Linked DNA regions of Homo sapiens: region 1 is linked to region 2. Evidence: promoter capture Hi-C in human tissues and cell types (Jung and others, 2019). All regions are on one chromosome and are shown on one strand. Each heading gives the region's core, a stretch centred on a gene start or on the middle of the fragment in contact. The rest is flanking DNA. Distances are from core to core; before and after follow the strand shown.

Region 1 (3,672 bases), core at 1,173-3,672, 430 kb before region 2:
CTTCAACAAATATTAAATAATTTGAAAAGTAGAATAAAAATTCTATATAAAACATCTCTATTGCATCAAACTATGTCTCTAGTAAAACAGGTAAACCGGGAAAGGAGCAAACCAAAGACAGCCGGAGATGCCTGGGTTCCAGCGCCAGCTGTGTGACCCCGAGCAACTCTCCAAATGTCTCTGAGCCTTGCTTTACTCCTCTGACAGATGGGAGCACCTGGGCCTGAGCAATCGGCAGCGTCCTGACAGAGAGGAGGGCTGTCAGTCATTTTTATTTGCTCCTTTGTGCTGATTTTTATAATAACCACGTAATGCTTTTAGAATAATGACTTTTAAAACACTAAGTACCTGGATCCCCATTGCTCTCCACCAATGTGGGGAGTGAGCAAGCCCCCTGGCTGGCCCCAGGAGCCACTTCGCCTGTACTTTATGCAAATCCTAGAAGCCGCGCCTCCCGCCCCGCCTGCCCGCCCACACTCACTCGGTGATCTCCTCTGTGACCGTGTGCTCCACCTGCAGGCGGGAGTTGACCTCGATGAAGTAGTGCTTGCCGTGCCTGTCCACCAGGAACTCCACGGTGCCTGCGTTCTCGTAGCCCACCTGTGGGGGCGGCCACGTGAGCAGGGGAGGGCACAGGCAGGGCCTGGGCAAACTCACTGGACTCAGGACAGGGATTCCGTCCCACCCATTGGGTTGGTTCCGTAAAAGAATGGCCTGTGGCAAACCCTGCCCCCACAGATGGCAGACAGACCCCAGGGCCCAGGTCATGCTCCTGCCTGGACACGTCCCCCAAGTAGTCCACTAGGCTCCAGGGTTCCCGGAGCCACAGATGGCTGCACCCAGCTTATCTGGGACGAGACATGGGCAGAAGCCCCCACCCATCCCAGGCTCGGCACCTTGCCCTGCTGCCTCCTGGGCTTGCCCGCCAAGGCTGTGTCATCCACCCAGACACGGAGACCCAGGCCTCTCCCAGCCGCTGCTTCTGCTTGGAGGTGTTTTCAGAAAGTCCCCTTCTAGTCTACTGCGCAGTCACCTCTGGCCACCACCACCCAAAGAAATTCATTTGAGAGGTACCAACAGATAATGACTCTAACTCAAATTTCAGCCCTAATTCCAGTTTCACTTTTGGTCTCACCAAAACGATAAACCAGACTGAATCACCTCCCTTAAACCTGTTCTGGAATGTGAAATAGTATAAGCCAGTAAATAAGACCTGACTTAAACGCGACCCTGGTCGATGCCTCGCATTAGCTGTGGCTGAGGCCTTGCTGCAGAGTGCACACCCCGGCCTTCGGCATGGGGAGGTGACGCATCCTCTGCTGCCTATAGGCCAGGGAAGAAGAGGGGGCAGGACCCCGCTGCACACCTGGCCACAGCAGGTGCTCTCCAGGCCAGTCCTGGGGCAGGTCACTGTGGGGAGATAGCTTGCCACCTCAGCCTCCTCCACAGCCCAGGACCCCCCGACCAGAGGTCCCAGAAAAGCAGAGATGGGCAGAGGGTGCAGAGCAAGGAAACAGATCATAATAAACATGATGTAGGAGACAGAAGCACATGAGGGAGGACTGCCTTCATAATGGTCCTCAATCTTGACAGAATCCACGGAATCTCATTCTCCTGATGACAGGGATGAGCTGATGCCACAGAGAAGCCAGGTCTGTGTAGCAGCAGGGCTGAGGAGGCGGCTGGGGCTCCTTCCCTCCCTCTTCTCAGCCATCCTGGACTCTAAGCTTGGCCTCTGGGCCAGGTGCCTCAACTGCACATGGGAAGGATGCCACAAACCCACTTCTGGCCCCCAGGAGAGTCCTTCACCCTCTTCTCCCCATCCCCAGTCCCCAGAAGGGGACTCAGGGTCCCCTTCCCCAACCAGCGCCCCACTGTGAGGCCTGCCGGCCTGTGAGCACAGGCTCCTGTCCCAACACGGGAAGCCCACCCTTCACCTGTTTAGCGAGTTTCACAGAGTCGCTGGTGAGCCGAGTCCGAAGCTGCGGGTCCAGGTGGGCGGCGGGGGCAATCTCGACCACCTTCTGGTGCCGCCGCTGGATGGAGCAGTCTCGCTCGTACAGGTGCAGGATGTTCCCATACTGGTCCCCTGGGGAGGGAGGTAAACTGGGCTTAGCTTTTACTGGAATCTACACGCCTCCTAAATGCCCCATCACCCCCACATAACCACTGTCGCCAGTCAGTGCCGGCTGCCAGCGGTACAGAGGCTGCCAGGAGAGACACCAGCATCACCAAGGCTGTGAGGACCAACTGCCAGCTCGGCCCCTAGAGCCCACTTTCCAGAGTCCTCTGGAAAAGCGCCCGACAGGCCCCAGGGCTGTCCCCAAGGCCAGCCACTGTGACGGCACCAGGACTGGGCCTCTCAGCTCCCGCCTCCAGCTGCCCCAGGCGGGGCGTCAGGACCACTCACCCAAGATCTGCACCTCGATGTGCCGTGGCTTCTCGATGAACTTCTCCACAAACAGCGCCCCATTCCCAAAGGCGGCCAGAGCCTCTGAGTAGGCCCGGGTGTAATTCTCCTCCAGCTCCTGCGAGGGCGGGCAGGGGCCAGCCAGACCTCAGACCCCACAGCGCTACCTCTCCCCTGCCATGAACCCCACCCACTTTCCAGATCCCTTGAGTGGTCCGCCCCTGCCCCCACGGCAGGCTGCCCTGCCCTGCTCCCAGCCCTGGGCATCTTCACTCACCTCGTAGCTGTGCACCACCCTCATGCCACGCCCTCCACCCCCATAGGCCGCCTTGAAGATGATGGGGAAGCCGTAGGTGTTGGAGAACTCGTGGGCCTCATGCAGGGACGTGATGGGGGCATCTGTGCCAGGGACAACGGGAACACCTGTTGGGAGAAAGGTGTGGGGGAGTCTCTGTAACAGGCGGGAATCCCTGCCACCCCTCCCTGCTGGACCCTCTCCAGGAGCTGCGGGGCCACCCCTTGCTTGCCCGTTATATTCACCCGCAGCAATGGCGATGGCCCGGGCCTCCACCTTGTCTCCCATCTTGCGGACCACTTCTGGGCTTGGCCCAATAAACCGGACCCCTGCATCCTGGCAGGCCTGGGCGAAGTCCGCTCGCTCAGAGAGGAACCCGTAGCCAGGGTGCACTGCATCTACGTTGTTCTCCTGCAGGTGGGGGTCAGGGAGAGGACGGTACCTTGCAGTCCCTTCCAAGGCCTCGGCCAGCCTCTTCCCCTGCCTAACCTGCTGAGCTGCATCCGTTTACCCACCCACGCACAGAGGCGCTGAGCACGCCAGCCTCAAGAGACCCCCGCGGCAACTAAGACTCCCTGGTCCCTGCTGTCCAGGCCCAGCCAGGCCACTGGGCTCACCTTGGCCACCTTGATGATGTCTGGGATGTGCAGGTAGGCCTGCACGGGGGCCAGGCCGCGGCCGATGAGATAGGCTTCATCTGCTTTCTGCCGGTGCATCTGGCCCGTGTCCTGCTCAGAGTAGATGGCTACGGTGCGGATGCCCAGCTCCGTGCAGGCCCGGAACACACGGATGGCAATCTCACCTAGAGGGCAAAGAAACAAGAAGTTAGATTCCTAGGTCCTAGGAGAAGCAGAAAGGGGAGTGGGAAGCCAGGGCCTGGGGCAGTGAGTGGGAGAAGAATGCCAAGGCTGGGGCGGCCATGAGGCTCCTCTCACCGGCCCCACTGGTGCTCACCTCTGTTGGCCAC
Region 2 (3,407 bases), core at 615-3,114:
GGGGGTGGGCTCTGGCCTCTGCAGCCACACGGCAGAAGTGACAGCTGTGGGCTCTGGTGGCTGCAGGTGACCGTCTGGGAAGCCCTGACCAACACCCGGCCCGGTGCCCGCCCTCCTCCCCAGGCCACGGTTTATGAGGAACAGCTTCAGCTGGAGCGGTGAGCCCCTCATGGGGCTGGCTGGGTCCCTGTCCCCCCAGCCCTGGCTTGGCGGGGAGGGGGATAGCAGGAAGGTGCTAGGACCCCAGGCCCTCTGCAAGGCCACCCTCTGTCAGCAGCGCTATCTGCCACCAAAGGTGGTGTGAGGGGTGGGGAAGCAGGGCCCTGCCTTGTCTCCTCTGCTTGCCACCCTGTCTTTGCCTTTGTCCTCCAAAGCCGGTCCCCAGCCCCTCGGCTTCTGCCCCAGCCTTGGCGCTCACTGGCCTGTTCTTCCCTCCCCTGCCCTGCCTGGAAGGGCCCTCCAGGAAAGCCTGCAGCTGTCCACAGAGCCCAGGGGCCCAGGATCCCCTCCCAGGACACCCCCAGCCCCCGGTCCACCCAGCTTTGAAGAGCAGCTGCGCCTGGCCCTGGAGTTGTCTTCACGGGAGCAGGAGGAGCGGGAGCGGCGCGGGCAGCAGGAGGAGGAGGACTTACAGCGGATCCTGCAGCTGTCACTCACTGAGCACTGAGCCATAGCCCCGGGAGGGCTGGCCAGGCCACTCCCTGCCCGCTTTTGTAATTTATTTATTTATAAACTCTCTGCTGCTGAGCTTGGGGCCTGGAGCCCCAGGAATGAGCAGGCAGGGGAGACTGAGATGGAAATAAAGAGACTGTCGCAGCAGGGCTGCTCTGCTCACTGGGCTGGAGCGGTGGGGACCCTGAAGGTGGGGCGCTGTGGAGAGGCACTGTGGATGGCGGCCTCAGACCTGGGCTTGAATCCTGGTCATGGTCCCCTTAGCCTATCTGAGCCTCAGTTTCTTCAGTTGTAAAATGAGGAGACCACCCCCCACCCTCCGCCCCTCAGGGCTGAAAGGAGCTGGCGAGAGTCACGTGTCCTTACCAAGCAGGCGTCCTGTGAAAGTCAGATCCCCTGTGCCCTGTCCCACCTGCTGGGGACCCGGTTCGTCCTGCCACCCAGCCTAGTCTTCTGGAAACCGGCCCACGTGCCTGCTGGGGAGGAAAAGCCTGGGTCCCCAGGCACCATTCACCTCCAGCTGGGAAGAGCCCCGACGCCGACCCCTGCAGCCAAGCCCAGGCCCTGGCCCTGACTGCGGCTTGTTCTCTGCGGGTGGGTTTGCGCAAGTCACTTCCGCCTGCGTAGCTGGAAGCCCTGCCCTGCTCGCCTCCGAGGTGGACCTGAGAGCCCCTCATGGGCTTCCTGGGTTATTTGTAAACCCCAGGCCGTTTTCCCCGGAAGCCTGTCTTCCAGTGGTTCCTGCGGAGTGGGAACGAGAAGGCCGACCAGCAGGGAGAAATGTTTGGGGTGGGGGCCCTTGGCCGAGGGCGCGCCGTGCCTGATCCTCTCTAGACCTGTCCCCCACCTCCCCACCTCAGCTCTGCCTCCCTAGGACCCGCCTCTGCAGGGCACAGGACGCTGGAGGCCCAGAACAGCTCAGGTGCTCCCGCTGGGCCGGCCCGGGCCGGGCGCTTCCTGGGAGGGGGACCAAACTCCCGGCCTTCAGCTCTTGCCCTCCGGGTCTCCGGGCTCCGCACCTGCGCCCGCCCCCGGCCTCGCCCCTGACCTGTGCCCAGGGGCTGGGCGGGCCGAACAGCGGAGACCGGAGGGGCGGGGCCCGGCCGCCCTGAGAAGCTCCGCGGGCCCGGCTGGGCGAGTGTCTGGCCCTTTAAGGGCCGCCCCCGAGGAGGTGCCAGGCCCGGGTGGCGCCGTCCGTCCTTCCTGGTCCTGCGGGTCCAGGACTGTCCGCGGGGTTGAGGGAAGGGGCCGTGCCCGGTGCCAGCCCAGGTGCTCGCGGCCTGGCTCCATGGCCCTGGTCACAGTGAGCCGTTCGCCCCCGGGCAGCGGCGCCTCCACGCCCGTGGGGCCCTGGGTGAGTGTGGTCCGGCCGTGGTGCCGCCCACGCAGTTGCTGCCCCGGCTTGGGAGCGCGTCCTGCCCGCCAGCGGGCTCCTCTCGAACGGGGACATGAGGAGGGGGCCCCGGGGCTCGGGCTGGAGGGCGCTGGGGGCCTCGAGGGTCTCTGGTACTGGCGCCGGGGCACAATCCAGAGCCCTGCGCGCCGCCCGGGCTGCGGAGGCCCCGATCTGAGCGCGCCCCCCGCCACACTCGGCGCCCACCCAGCCGACCTGGCCTTGGGCCGGGGCTCCACGGGGCCTCCCGGTGGGGCGTGGACTGGGGTGGGAAGACGATTGGCATCTGGCGCCTTTTCTGGCCTCCCCCAACTCTAGAATTCCTGAGAGAGGGGAGGGGACAGCCCTCCCCGCCCTCACCCTGCCCTGGGGCTGCTCTCTCCGCAGGACCAGGCGGTCCAGCGAAGGAGTCGACTCCAGCGAAGGTGAGCGCCACCTCCCCCACGCAGACACTTCCGTCTGCCCCGGGCCTGGCCACGGCCGTCCTGGGCTCCAGCTGCAGGGACAGAAAGCTCCCCGGAGGACGCGCAGCGAAGCCCACTGCCAAATTTGTGGGGCAGCGTTCCCGGTGGGGCCGGCTGGTGGGCTCGCGGTAGGGCGGCCTTTGCCTTCACCCTCCCCCTGGTCAGCTGGGGCTTCCTCATCCACTGCCCTGGGCTTTGGCTCAGGTGGTGGCCACGGGCCGAACGGCAGGAGGGCATGATGGGCCTGAGGACTCCTGGGTCCCCGACCATGTTCCCAGCAGCACTTGAGTTAAACAGGTGGGAGGGGAAAAGGAGCAGCCCCCTCTCCCCACAGATGAGCTAGAGTAGAGGGGCTGAGAGCTTGGAAGCCCCCAAGACTGGTTCTCAGCAATATTGCCAAGGGGCCGAGGGGTTAGAAATGCAGATGCTCAGGCCTCCACTCTAGACCTATCGACCGCGTGGGGGCCCATGAATCCGTGTAGACAAGGGCTGCAGGTGAATGTGATGCATGCTAGACTTTGAGAGCCCCTACCCTAAGGGGAATGAGGAGCCATGACAGTTGCCCACTGCCCTGCCAGGCAGAGCTTTGCGGTGCTCCGTGGGGCTGTCCTGGGACTGCAGGATGGAGGGGACAATGATGATGCAGCAGAGGCCAGTTCTGAGCCAACAGAGAAGGCCCCGAGTGAGGAGGAGCTCCACGGGGACCAGACAGACTTCGGGCAAGGATCCCAGAGTCCCCAGAAGCAGGAGGAGCAGAGGCAGCACCTGCACCTCATGGTACAGCTGCTGAGGCCGCAGGATGACATCCGCCTGGTGAGGGCCCATGTGGAGCTCCGGGGGGTGGGGGGAAGAGACACGCCTGAGGGCAGAATGGAGCC

What was found. Contacts are between HindIII fragments. The study calls those that stand out against the background at their distance.
Region 1: a fragment that was not itself captured here is called in contact with the fragment with the promoter of SSH3 in region 2 in 1 of the 25 tissues and cell types used here (dorsolateral prefrontal cortex).

Annotation. Positions count from the first base shown.
Region 1 is chr11:66,868,365-66,872,036 of GRCh38, forward strand. It overlaps PC (pyruvate carboxylase), which reads right to left. Exons shown (of 23, transcript NM_001040716.2): 4 at 3,660-3,672; 5 at 3,323-3,507; 6 at 2,951-3,116; 7 at 2,688-2,833; 8 at 2,411-2,528; 9 at 1,938-2,089; 10 at 482-600. Among named protein-coding and RNA genes, the nearest start is that of LRFN4, 13 kb to the left of the region's middle. RefSeq lists an enhancer at 408-517. The HindIII fragment of the contact is 6,756 bases long and covers 1-3,672 here.
Region 2 is chr11:67,301,666-67,305,072 of GRCh38, forward strand. It overlaps SSH3 (slingshot protein phosphatase 3), which reads left to right and starts at 1,865. Exons shown (of 14, transcript NM_017857.4): 1 at 1,865-2,026; 2 at 2,453-2,490; 3 at 3,108-3,342. The coding sequence starts at 1,961. It overlaps ANKRD13D (ankyrin repeat domain 13D), which reads left to right. Exons shown (of 15, transcript NM_207354.3): 14 at 67-158; 15 at 454-819. The coding sequence ends at 667. RefSeq lists enhancers at 1,015-1,532, 1,533-2,052. The HindIII fragment of the contact is 10,588 bases long and covers 1-3,407 here.